Regions from separate parts of the Homo sapiens genome. Here all the other regions are linked to region 1. Evidence: promoter capture Hi-C in 16 types of primary human blood cells and fetal thymus (Javierre and others, 2016). All regions are on one chromosome and are shown on one strand. The core of a region is centred on a gene start or on the middle of the fragment in contact, and the rest is flanking DNA. Distances in the headings are between cores, read along the strand shown. Region 1 holds the start of ZNF846 (zinc finger protein 846). Region 2 holds the start of ZNF426 (zinc finger protein 426). Region 3 overlaps ZNF561-AS1 (ZNF561 antisense RNA 1). Region 4 overlaps ZNF561 (zinc finger protein 561).

Region 1 (3,183 bases), core at 3-2,502:
TTTTTTTTTGAGACGGAGTCTCACTCTGTCGCCCAGGCTGGAGTACTGTGGCATCGTATCAGCTCACTGCAACCTCAGTCTCCTAGGTTCAAGCAATTCTCCTGCCTCAGCCTCTCGAGTAGCTGGGATTACAGGCGCCCACCACCACACCCGGCTATTTTTTAAAAAATATTTTTAGTAGAGATGGGGTTTCGGCATGTTGGCCAGGCTGGTCTCGAACTCCTGAACTCACGTGTTCCACCCGCCTCGGCTTCCCAAAGTGCTGGGATTACAGGCGTGAGCCACTGCCCCCAGCCCCATCAGGTTAATCTTTCAAACAGGGTGTCGCTGGTCTCGAACTCCTGGGCTCAAGCGATTCTCCCGCAGTAGCTAGGACTACAGCGGGATTATCTTTGTAAATATGTTTATATCCCTGCAGAGGGTTGAAGAAACAAGGAGAAAATCCTGCAGAAAAGAATTTCCCTAGGGTGGTGGCTCACGCCTATAATCCCAGCACTTTGGGAGGCCAAGGTGGAAGGATCACTGGAGCCCAGGAGTTCCAGATCAGCCTGGGTAACAAAGAGAGACCCTGTCTCTACAAAAAAATAAAAATAAAATAAAAATAAATTAGCCAGGCGTGGTGGCACACACCTGTGGTCCAAGCTGCTTGGGAGGCCGAGGGGGGAGGATCCTTTAGGCTCAGGAGTTCGAGACCAGCCTAGGGAACACAGTGAGACCCAAGTGTCTAGAAAAAGATAACTTAGCTGGGCGTGATGGGCCCAACTGTGGTCCAAGCTACTCCGGAGGCCGAGGCGGGAGGATAGCTTCAGCGCAGGAATTCCAGGCTGCAATGATCTATGACCGAGCCACTGCACTCCAGCCTAGGCGACAGACCGGAGCCTTATCTCAAAAAACTAAAAAGAGAAATTAAAAAAGAAAAGAAAAGCACTCGATGAGCATCCCGCTGTCTGCAATCGAAGCCTTAGGTGACGCCTCCACGCGTGCCCCGCCCGCTGCGCCAGTCCCCGCCTCCAACCCGGCCCTTGGCGCTGGGTTTCCTGGTCCGGCGTCGTTCCCAATATCGACAGATTGATCTGGATCCTGGTCCACCTGGGATGCGAGAAAACGGGACTTTTCTGTACGCGTGTCGAAGAGGTGGCCCCAGCTCTTCTCTCAGCTTCACATCATCCTCATTCCAAAGCTCTTGGGGCTCGGCCCCTACACTTAATGCCGTGCGCAACCGGAAGCGGAAGTGCCAGCCGGCGCGCAGCTATACGTATTCCCCGCTCTCCAGCAGCTTCCTAGCTGGGTTTTCACCTCAGCCAGCGCTCATGCTCAACCTAGGCAGGGCGGGGCAGGAGGGCCTAGCGGGAGGCGGAGCGAGGGTCGGAGGGTGACGCTCCGGACTTCTGCTAGGTCTGAGACGCGCCGGCCTCCCGCTGCTGCTCCGGAGAAGCGGCGCCTCCTCCCCGCCAGGACCCCGAGGCGGGGGGTTCCCGCCTTCTCTTCTGAGCGCCTCTTCCCGCTGCGCCCGCATCAGTCTGGGCCTGGCCCAGGGTCCCCGGTGGAGACGTGTTTTTTTCTCCAACCACCGTGCCCCTCTGTTTAAAAGCAGCCAGTCAACCTTTGTGTCCTTTCTCCAGAAGGAAAAGCATCTCAGCTGTTGTGGAAAAGGGCCCCAGCGTCCTCTTGTCACCGACAGGGCGATTGCAGTGCGTTCCGGTGAGCCCTGGACGGAGGAGATGATCTGGCTGTGGGAGGGCATCGCTTATTGAAGTTTGCGAAATTGCTCAGCAGTTAAATGCTTTGTCAAGTGTGCAGGAGTTGTAGGTTTATAGAAATAAAAGCAAATATTGCCACAGTTATAAAGCAAAGTAGCAATACTCCGCTGTGTTTTTGAGATCAAAAGCAGCTGAACTTCCTAGGTCAGTACCTCCCAAAGAGCTTCAAAACGGAGGGGCTTCCAGGAAGTAGGATGCCGCCTTCATTATACCAGTATCAGAAATTACAGTTGTATTAACTGTGAAAGAGACATGTTTTGATTCAGCGTTTTTCCTCTCGTATATATACATATTTTGAGACGGAGTTTCGCTCTTATTGCCCAGGCTGGAGTGCAATGGCGTGATATAGGCTCACTGTAAACTCTGTCTCCCGGTCCAAGCGATTCTCCTGCCTCAGCATGCTGAGTAACTGGGATTACAGGCATGTGCCACCACGCCCGGCTAATTTTGCATTTTTAGTAGAGACGGGGTTTCACCATGTTGGTTGGGCTGGTCTCGAACTCCTGACCTCGTGATCCACCCTCCTCGGACTCCCAAAGTGCTGGAATTACAGGTATAAGCCACCGCGCCTGGCCTTCCCCCTCATATATTTTTATTTATTTATTTACGTTTTAAAGACAGGGTCTTGGTTTGTTGCCCAGGCTATCTGTAGATTGAATATTCTAAACCAAAGAAAATGTGAAAGGCCAGAATATTGAACACCTATTATATATCCTTGTTGTAGACTGATCATTTGTTAATATTTTGCATGTTTTCTGTTTCTTTGCATCTCTTGTGTAGATCAATGTGTATTGGCCGGGTGCGGTAACTTAAACACCTGTAATCCTGGCACTTTGGGAGGCCGAGGTGGGCGGTTCACCTGAGGTTGGGAGTTCCAGACCAGCCCGACCAACATGGAGAAACCCTGTCTCTACTAAAAATACAAAATTAGCCAGGTGTGGTGGGGCATGCCTGTAATCTTAGCTACTCGGGAGGCTGAGGCAGGAGAATCGCTTGAACCCGGGAGGCAGAGGTTGTGGTGAGCTGAGATCGTGGCAATGCACTACAGCCTGGGCAACAAGAGCAAAACACCGTCTAAATAAATAAATAAATAAATAAAACTAGGCCGGGCACAGTGGCTCACCCCTGTAATCCCAGCACTTTGGGAAGCAGAAGCAGGAGGAGCCACTGAAGCTATGAGTTTGAGACAAGCTGGGACAACATAGTGAGACCCCATCTCTACAAAAAAAAAAATAAATAAATAAAAGCATAACTAAAGTCAGTGACAATATCAAGTCTTCTTTAAGATGTGCATGCATTGCTGAAGAGAACACTTTTTTTTTTTTTTTTTTGAGACAGAGTCTTGCTCTGTTGCCAGGCTGGAGTGCAGTGGCATGATCTCGGCTCACTGCAACCTCCACCTCCCGGGTTCAAGTGCTTCTCC
Region 2 (3,195 bases), core at 341-2,840, 230 kb after region 1:
CTGTAATGTGGGTAAGCAGCCAAAGCAGGCAGCCCTGCAATTGACTTGCCACCAAGGGAATGTGGGTGAATGATCAAGGCAGGCATCCCCACAGTGATCAGACACCAATGGAATGTAGGTGAATAATCAGGCAGGTATCCCTACAGTGATTAGCCACCAAGGAAAGACTGTCTTCCTGAGTCCGTGACTGGAGCTGGAGTTTTGGGTCCACAGATAAAATGTGTCTCCTTTGTCTCTACTGGAGAGGAAAAAGAACTGGAATTGGAAGGACAGAGAGATGGAAGGGTAGTGAGAGAGGCTGGAGAAGAGAGTGAAGAGACTGCTTACCCAATTTGAAATTGGTGAGATGTTCCTTGGGCTAGTCTGAGGACCCGAGGTAGTAGGTGGAGCTCCTCACGGAGTGAGGGTGAGGACGGGGCCAGTCTCCCAAGGGAGTCCCCCTGTCCCAGGTTTCGGAACCAAATGTTACACACATCCATGTGAAGAGACCACCAATAGGCTTTGTGTTAGCAACAAGGCTGTTTATTCACTTGGGTGCAAGTGGGCTGAGTCCGAGAAAGGGGTCAGCAAAGGGAGATAGGGGTGGGGCAGTTTTATAGGATTTGGGTAGGTAGTGGAAAGTTAAAGGTGGTTATCTTTTGCTGGCAGGGCCGGGGGTCACAAGGTGCTCGGTGGGGAACTCCTGAGACTCGTCCAGAAGAAGAATGTCACAAGGTCAAGAGATCAGTTGGGGTGGGGCAGCAACAAATCACAATGGTGGAACGTCATCAGTTAAGGCAGGAACTGGCTGTTTCACTTCTTTTGTGGTTCTTCAGTTGCTCCAGGCCATCTGGATGTATACGTGCAGGTGACAGGGTTTATGATGATTTAACTTGGGCTCAGAGGCCTGACAAGTAGTTCAAGACCAGCCTGGCCAGCATGGCAAAACCCTGCCTCTACTAAAAATACAAAAATTAGCAGGGTGTGGCAGCATGCACCTGTAATTCCAGCTACTTGGGAGGATGAGGCAGGAGAATCGCTTGAACCTGGGAGGTGGAGGTTGCAGTGAGCTGAGATGGCTCCACTGAACTCCAGCCTTGGTGACAGAGTGAGATTTTGTCTCAAAAAAAAAGAAAAGATGTTTTAAAGCAAGGCAGAAAACCTAGAAATTATTTTTAAAAACAATTCTTTTAGCTGCATAGAAAATGTTTTTTACATCAAATGTTGAAATAGTAACAGAGCAAAAGACGTAGTTACCTATTTTCTACATGCATAACACATTGGCTCCTTCCCCTATGGCCGCCCTGCTGCGGCCTCGCCCACAGGCCTGGCTATAACTTCAACCTTTTCCTCTGGGCCTGGACCCACATTCCTCCCCGCCCCCTGCCCGTAGCCCTGCCCACAGGCTTGGCTCTAACCTCGACCTTGCCTTCTGGACCCATTTCTGCCTGCAGCCCCCACGCTGAGCCCACCCCAAGGTCCTCCGCAGCCAAGCAGATGGAAAGTAGAATTTTTCTGCCTCGAGGAGGTATTACACGGCAGAAACCCTAGTCCCGAAACCCCGCCTGGCCCGAGGCGGAGAGCGTAAATGACGTCAGCGGTGCGCCGTTCCTTTTGTGACGCCGGCTGTGAGCGCCTGAGAGTCTTTTTGCCTTTCAGAGTTAAGGCCTCACTGGCCTGGGTGAGTTCCGAGGAGATGAACTGGTTTTGGGGTGAAGGACGGGTTTGGCCCGGACGTTAGAGAGGCCTGGCCCGCTCTGCTCGTGTCTGCTGGGCCCGCTAGCGTCCGCTCGGACCGTCGCTCCTCGGGAGGAGTCGGGTTTATAGTTACGGTGTCCGCAGGGTGTTTTCATCTGTGCGCCCCTCTCCAAAGGCCTCCAAAGCAGCGTTTGTGAATTTTTTTCCGGCAGGAAAATAATTGCTGCCTTTTGCATCCGCGTTGGCTCCGTCCCCAGGATCTTCCCGGTTCAGGGACCTGGCGATTTCTGAGTGTTCCGGTGAGCACTGGGTGAAAGTTGGTTCTAGGGGGCCTTTTCTGTCTTCTCTTATGCAAACGAATGTTTCATCTGTAAGTTTGGTTTCGTCTTATTGTGTTGTGTTTTATTTTTGACCATTACTTTCATGGCGAAAGATAAAGATGCTTTTTAGGTTTATAGGGTGTGCGTATTTGTGTATGTGAATATAAACGTTTGTAGACCGCAAGTCTTTCTGCTAAAGAATACTAAGAATAATAATTCATTATCTTCGAATGGAGTTCCTAGGCCTGTACATCCCAAGAGAGCTTCTTAATCAGACCTCCAGAGGGAAAGGATGAAGGCTTTATTATTCTAGTATCACAATAATCAAATTTACAATGAACAGGATGGTTGGATTAAGGAGTTTGAAACCAGCCTGGCTAAGATGGTGAAACCCCGTCTCTACTAAAAATAGAAAAAAAATTAGCCGAGCGTGGTGGTGGGGTCTTGGAATCTCAGCTATTTGGGAGACTAAGGCAGGAGAATCACTTGAACCCAGGAGGCGGACGTTGCAGTGAGCTGAGATCGTGCCACTGCACTCCAGCCTGGGAGACAGAGTGAGCCTCCGTCTCAAAAGAAAAAAAAGAGAAACGAAGGATGTGTGCATTTTAAGCTACATTGATTGTATATCAATGAAAAAAAAAAAAAGCTGGCTGGGTACAGTGGCTCACACCTGTGATCCCAGCACTTTGAGAGGCTGAGGCAGGAAGATCTCTTGAGCCCAGGAGTTTAAGACCAGCCTGGGCAACATAGCAAGACTCCATCTCTCCAAAAAAAAAAAAAAAAAAAGAGTTAAATATTCTATACAGATGCCACCAAACTGAATATTTGTGGGCCTAGTCAGCCCTAGGACCCCTAGTTTGAGACCCCTGGGAGTAGGTGTGATCTATACCAGGAGTCCAGAACTGTGGTTTTTGTGACTTTAGGGTTTTAGTCTTATTGGTAGAAGGAGGCCTATAGAGTTTTTGTGAATTTGGTTCATGGATAATGAACTGCGGAACTTTCACTGTTTATCATCATTTGACTCCCATTCTGTAGGTGATTGTTTGAGCCACTGTTTCATGTTTGATTAATTAATGATTGTCATTATTATTATTATTATTTTTTTTTTGAGACAGAGTCTTGCTCTGTCACCTAGGCTGGAGTGCAGTGGTGTGATCTCAGCTCCCTGCAACTTCCATTTCCCAGGATCAAGCGATTC
Region 3 (3,070 bases), core at 541-3,040, 140 kb after region 1:
GGACACTTTGGAATGGTCTCAATCCTGGGCTTTTTCCCCCAAAAGGTGGTTTCCTTAGGGTTTTTTTAAATTAGTTTTCTTACATATTAGGCAACTATCTGTAACTTATTTTGCTAGGGTATAAACTCCTATACACCCATAAACTCTGAGAACTGCATCGCACACAGCTTGAGGTCCCCAATGAGTCCCTTGATGCAGTTGAGATAGGACTTCCCTCATTAGGGGTTTTGATAGCATTTCTCTTTGGTCTGGTAACATCCATTTCCCTTCTGAGTTTTCTTTAGCTCCTATTTTCCTTAATTTCTCTTTTTCAGTGGGAGAGAAGATGTGAATTGCAGTTGGGGAAGAAAGACAAGGGGTTAGGTGAAAAATGGGCATTTTGGGAGAAGAGGCAGCTTGTTTGGCTATTTGGTCTGCAAGTTTATTTCCTTGGCTTTTGAAAGAAATATTTCTCTGGTGTCCTGGGACACGCAGGATGGCTATCTCTTCTGGTAGCTGGAGATTTTCCAATACCTGAGTGATTAACTCCTTGTGGACAAGGTCCTGGCCTTTTATTCAGTCCAGATCTTTCCAAAAGTATGGACTACCCCGAAGGCATATTTGGAGTCAGTGTAAATAGTCCCTTTCCCAGTTATGGCTTGATTTAATGTGAACAATTCACATGTTTGGGTGGACCAGTTATTGGGCAGTCTTCCTGACTTTACCTCTGTGAGGGCTTCCCCATTGACTACCGAGTACCCATTGTGTCTTTTCTCTTCAAATACCTGGGAGGAGCCATCTATAAACAGGTGTTGCCCCGTTTTGAATGGGGTCTCGCTTAGATCAAGCCTGACTTTAGTTTGATAACAGATTAGATCCAGACATTTATGTTCAGGGTCCTGGGGATTGGATTTCCCATTAGGAAAGCGGCAGGGTTGAGTGTTTTTTCTGTGGTTAGGGTTAAATCATCTTTTTCTAGTAAGATAGCTTCATATTTTAAGATTCTTGAATCGGTAAGCCATCTGCCTGCTTTTTGGTTTAGGATGGTTCTAACCTGATGGGTTGTGTTTACAGTGAGGTTTCCCCCAAAGGTTATCTTCCTGCTTTCCTCTGTAAATAGGGCAGTTGCTGCAACAGATTAAATACACTCGGGCCACCTGTGGGTTAGTGGGTCAAGAATTTTTGACAGAAAGGCTATAGGCTGCCGGTGGCCCCCGTGTGTTTGGGTGAGCACCCCTAGAGCTATCCCTTTATTCACATTGACGAAGAGGTGGAATGGCTGTTCTAGGGAAGGTAGAACTAAGGCAGTTATGAGCAGGTGTTTTAATTCCTCTACTTGTTGGACCTCCCGTGGTGTCCAAAGAAGAGGATCAGGTCTCTCTTGAGTAAGTTTCAGGCATAGAGGCTTTGTTTTTAAAGCATAAAGTCAATCCATAAGCGACAATATCCAGTCAACCCCCAGAATTTCCTAAGCCCTTATTTTGTTTCAGGCAAAGGTACGGCTATGATTCCTTCAGTTCGTTTGGGGCCTAATCTCTGTTTGCCTTTGCTTATTAAGTATCCTAGGTATTTTATCTCAGGTTCCACAAACGAGTTTACTCCTTGAGACCAGCAATCCGCGTTCCCTCAGAAAATTTAGAAAGTTAATTGATACTGCTGTTACCCAGCCCTTGGTGCCTCCTGAAATTAGCAGGTCATCCACATATTGGAGCGGATATATGGATGAGGGGAGGGGAAAATTCTCTAGGACTTGTTCTAGAATTTGACCAAATAGATTTGGGGAGTCCACAAACTCTTGGGGCAGGACTGTCCATCAGTACTGTTGCTTCCAACTGGAGTGAGGGTCCTCCCATTTGAAAGCAAACATGTCCTGGCTGTCCTCTGCTAAGGGGCAAGCCCAAAAGGCATCTTTTAGGTCTATTACCATGAACCATTGGTGGTCATATGGGATTTTGCTGATAATGGTATAAGGGTTGGGGACCACAGGGTGAGTAGTCTGGACTATTTGGTTAATAGCCCAGATATCTTGCACTAGCCGTGATCCATGTGACTTTTTTACAGGCAACATTAGAGTGTTATAAGGAGGCATACAGGGTTCAAGGAGTCTGTCATGGATGAGACCTTTGATTATAGGTTTTAAACCCATTCTGCCTTCTAGGGGAATGGGGTGTTGTTTTCTTTTTACTATTTCCCCAGGAGGTTTTCGTTTTATATGAATTGGCGGAACTTGAATCTTCCTTGATTTCCCTCCTTTAACCACACATCAGGGTGGATTTGGCTTTCTTTAGGGGCGGTAAGCAAGTTTAAGGAAGTAAATAATTTTCCCTGATTAACATATAGACCTATCCCCAATTTAAACATTAAGTCCCTTCCTAACGAATTTGTCCCTGCATCAGGGATTAACATGAATTTAATGGCGGCTGATCTATTCTTGAATTTAACTTCTGTTTCCTCCAAAATTTTTGTTCTAAACCTTTCCCCCTTTACCACCGTGACGAACAGCTCCTCTGCAGAGCAGGCTACATTTGATGAAAGGTAGCAAACAGAGGAGCGAGCTACTCCTGAATCTATTAGGAAAGTGAAAATTTCTAGCTTGGGTCCCACCTGTAGATTTATCAAGGGCTATTGGTGGGATTTGAGATAAAAGAGACAGAGCCTCTGAACCCCCTATTCTTCTTCAAAAGTCATGAGTGGGAGGATTTCTCTCTCTTTCTCATTCGGGACATTCTGTCTTAAAGTGTCCCAGTTTCCCACATCTGAAACATTTATTTTCCCCCTTTTCCCTTCTTGCCGTTAGGTCCCCAGGTTTTATCCCTTTTCTTTCCTGTATGTGACTTTGCAGCTAGTGGCTTAGAACATTTATGGGACCTATTTCCTTGTGTCCCTTGTTGAAGGGTGGGCAGTGGAATTTTTGCTTTTTGTTTCTGCTTTCCTTGTCTTTTCTCATATATACCTTTTGGGCCTCCTTTAGAAGTTCTTCTATGGAGCTATCTTTCCAATTCTCTATTTTTTTGACAATTTTTTTGTAATTTCTGGCCAAATGTTGGTGACAAAGTGGAGTTTTAACAATCCTTGCCGAAGTGGATCTTCT
Region 4 (3,183 bases), core at 418-2,917, 160 kb after region 1:
TCTACTAAAAATACAAAAAATTAGCCAGACGTGGTGGCACACGCCTTTAGTCCCAGCTAGTCAAGAGGCTGAGGCAGGAGAATCACTTCAACACAGAAGGCAGAGGTTGCATTGAGCCAACATTGTGCCACTGCGCTCCAGTGTGGGTGACAGAGTGACACTTCATCTCAAAAAAAAAAAAAAAAGATTTTTAAAGATGCACTTTGCCTCAGAAGATTTAAGCTATTTTTCTCAGAGTTTTGGATATCTTTGACTCTTATTTTCCATCTTGTCAAACATTCCTATGATCTAATAAAACTACCTGTTCTGTTTCTTTGTTAACTTTATCATTCTGATACATGCTGTTTATCTAGATCTTTCCTACTTTCCTTTCCCGAAAATCTACTCTTTCTGTTTTCCATCAGCTTTAATTTTCTTTTCTTTTCTGAAGTCTTGCTCTGTCACCCAGGCTGGAGTGCAATGGCATGATCTCAGCTCACTGCAACTTCTGCCTCCCAGGTTCAAGCAATACTGCCTCAGCCTCACAAGTAGCTGGGATTATAGGCATGCGCCACCATGCCTGGCTAATTTTGTATTTTTAGTAGAGATGGGGTTTCTCCATGTTGGTCAGGCTGGTCTCGAACTCCTGACCTCAAGTGATCCACCCGCCTCAGCCTCCCAAAGTGCTGGGATTACAGGTGTGAGCCACCACTCCCGGCATTTTTAATTTTTACAGAAGTAGTTTGTAATAAACTATCTAAACACATCAGTTATGTAATAAACCCCACATCATTATAGCCAAATTTTTGATGTACCAAAATCCTCAAGGTTCTCTGGCTTTTATTTTATTGCTGTGTTTAATTTGAAAACAAGTAAAAATGACTCATTTTAAATGAATATTTCTTCTCTAAATCCTTACGTTTCTTTTTCTGCTTAACTTTAGAATGGGAAATACAACCTAGAACCAAACGGTCATCACTTCAGCAGGGTTTTTTGAAGAATCAAATATTCAGTGGGATACAAATGGTAAGATTCATGAGGGATATTTCTTAATTTCCTCTCTTAGAAAAGATAGAGAATTCCATTCTAGAAAATCAGCTCAGTCAGAGGTGTGGCTTACATCTGTAATCCCAGCTATTTGGGAGGCTGAAGTGGGGGTCTCATTTGAGCCCAAGAGTTCAAGACCAGCCTAGGCAGTATAGTAAGATCCCATCTCTGATTTTAAAAAGAAGGTGAATGTGGTGACTCACACCTGTAATCCCAACATTTTGGGAGGCCGAGATGGGTGGATCACTTGAGGTCAGGAGTTTGAGACCAGGCTGGCCGACATGGTGAAACTCCATCTCTACTAAGAATACAAAATTAGCCGAGTGTGGTGGTGGGCACCTGTCATACCAGTTACTTGGGAGGCTGAGACAGGAGAATGGCATGAACACAGAGGCAGAGGTTGCAATGAGCTGAGATTGCACCACTGCATTCCAGCCTGGTTGACCGAGTGAGACTCTGTCTCAGAAATAAAGAAAAGAAACTGAGTCTGTAATCCCATCCCTTTGGGAGGCCTAGGCACGTGGATCACTTGAGATTAGCACTTCGAGACCAGCCTGGCCAATGTAATGAAACTCTTATCTCTACTAAAAATACAAAGTTAGCCAGGTGTGGTGGCAGGCACCTGTAATCCCAGATACATGGGAGGCTGAGGCAGAATTGCTTAAACCCAGGAGGTGGAGTTTGCAGTGAAAAAGAAACTGCACAAATGAGAGATACTTGAGAGAATTAGAGAAGAATTCTGCACCACTGAGGGAGCAGGATCTCTGGAGAGATAGTCTGAATGTGATGAATTTTATGATATTCCATATCTGTATAACTTGTCACCTCAAAATACCCACAAGTACACATTCCCACATAAGTAACTAGACATTGAGGATTTACACAGTTTCATGAAAATCTACACTATTTGACTGGGTGCAATGGCTGACACCTGTAATCCCAGCACTTTGGGAAGCTGAGGCAGGAGAATCACTTGAGCCTAGGAGTTCAAGACCAGCCTGGTCAACAGAGACCCTGTCTCTACAAGGAATAAAAAATTAGCAGGGCGTGTTGGCATGCACCTGTAATCCAAGCTCCTTGGGGGACTGAGGCAGGATGATGGCTTCAGCCTGGGAGATTAAGGCCACAGTGAGCTGTGATTATGCCATGGTACCCAGCCTGGGTGACAGAGTGAGACCTTGTCTCAAACCACCCTGCATAATAATAAAAAAACCCTACAGTTTTCTTTTTTTGAACAATTAGAGCCAGTGGCGTAGAATTCTGGCAAAAGGGCCCATCATTCAATCTGGAAGAAATCAAGAAGTCAGGGAATAAAAACAAGGAAGAAAAATTGTAAAAATTATAATTATCAAAGTAGGCTGACATGGTAGCTCATGGCTGTAATCCCAGCACTTTGGGAGGCTGAGGCAGTGGGGTTTTGTGAAGAGTTTGAGATCAGCCTAGGCTACATAGTAAGACTTTGTCTCTATAAAAATAAATTGAGGCTGGGTGTGGTGGCTCACGCCTGTAATCCCAGCAATTTGGGAGGTTGAGGCAGGCAGATCATGAGGTCAGCAGTTCAAGACCAGCCTGGCGAACATGGGGAAACCCCATCTCTACAAAAAATAACAAAATTAGCTGGATGTGGCTACACCTGCCTGTAATCCCAGCTATTCGCGAGGCTGATGCATGAGAATCACTTGAGCCTAGGAGGTGGAGGTTGCAGTGAGCCAAGATCTCGCCACTTGCACTCCAGCCAAAGTGAGACTACATCTCAAAAATAAATAAACTGAGGTGGGGCATGGTGGCTCACCCCTGTAATCTCAGCACTTTGGGAGGCCAAGGCAGGCAGATCATCTGAGGTCAGGGGTTCAAAACCAGCCTGGCCAACATGGTGAAACCCTGTCTCTACTAAAACTACAAAAATTAGCCAGGCATGGTGACCCATGCCTGTAATCCCAGCTACTCAGGAGGCTGAGGCAGGAGAATCACTTGAACCTGGGAGGCAGAGTTTGCAACGAGCCGAAATCATGCCATTGCACTCCAGCCTGGGCTACAGAGCAAGACTCTGTCTCTAAATAAATAAATAAACAAACAAACTGAAAGATTGGCCAGACATGAGGGTGCATTCAAATAGTTCTAGCTACACAGGAAGCTAAGGCAGGATGATCACTTGAA

What was found. The method cuts DNA at HindIII sites, captures the fragments that hold promoters and counts their contacts. A CHiCAGO score of 5 or more calls a contact.
Region 2: the fragment with the promoter of ZNF426 here is called in contact with the fragment with the promoter of ZNF846 in region 1 in 5 of 17 cell types (naive CD8 T cells, total B cells, total CD4 T cells and 2 more); the score reaches 9.3 in naive CD8 T cells.
Region 3: a fragment that was not itself captured here is called in contact with the fragment with the promoter of ZNF846 in region 1 in 16 of 17 cell types (non-activated CD4 T cells, fetal thymus, megakaryocytes and 13 more); the score reaches 9.9 in non-activated CD4 T cells.
Region 4: a fragment that was not itself captured here is called in contact with the fragment with the promoter of ZNF846 in region 1 in 1 of 17 cell types (naive CD4 T cells); the score reaches 5.0 in naive CD4 T cells.

Annotation. Positions count from the first base shown.
Region 1 is chr19:9,766,807-9,769,989 of GRCh38, reverse strand. It overlaps ZNF846 (zinc finger protein 846), which reads left to right and starts at 1,252. Exons shown (of 6, transcript NM_001077624.3): 1 at 1,252-1,701. RefSeq lists enhancers at 968-1,187, 459-1,324 and a silencer at 1,268-1,437. The HindIII fragment of the contact is 9,482 bases long and covers 1-3,183 here.
Region 2 is chr19:9,537,040-9,540,234 of GRCh38, reverse strand. It overlaps ZNF426 (zinc finger protein 426), which reads left to right and starts at 1,590. Exons shown (of 8, transcript NM_024106.3): 1 at 1,590-1,660; 2 at 1,890-1,976. It overlaps ZNF426-DT (ZNF426 divergent transcript), which reads right to left and starts at 1,569. Exons shown (of 2, transcript NR_134921.1): 1 at 1,237-1,569; 2 at 505-829. RefSeq lists enhancers at 1-568, 1,223-1,292, 1,493-1,542, 1,549-2,284. The HindIII fragment of the contact is 12,585 bases long and covers 1-3,195 here.
Region 3 is chr19:9,628,599-9,631,668 of GRCh38, reverse strand. The region is part of intron 2 of ZNF561-AS1 (ZNF561 antisense RNA 1); the gene reads right to left. Among named protein-coding and RNA genes, the nearest start is that of ZNF561-AS1, 8.7 kb to the right of the region's middle. The HindIII fragment of the contact is 4,891 bases long and covers 1-3,070 here.
Region 4 is chr19:9,611,843-9,615,025 of GRCh38, reverse strand. ZNF561 (zinc finger protein 561) reads left to right here. Exons shown (of 6, transcript NM_152289.3): 5 at 923-1,005. Among named protein-coding and RNA genes, the nearest start is that of ZNF561, 7.8 kb to the left of the region's middle. The HindIII fragment of the contact is 9,023 bases long and covers 1-3,183 here.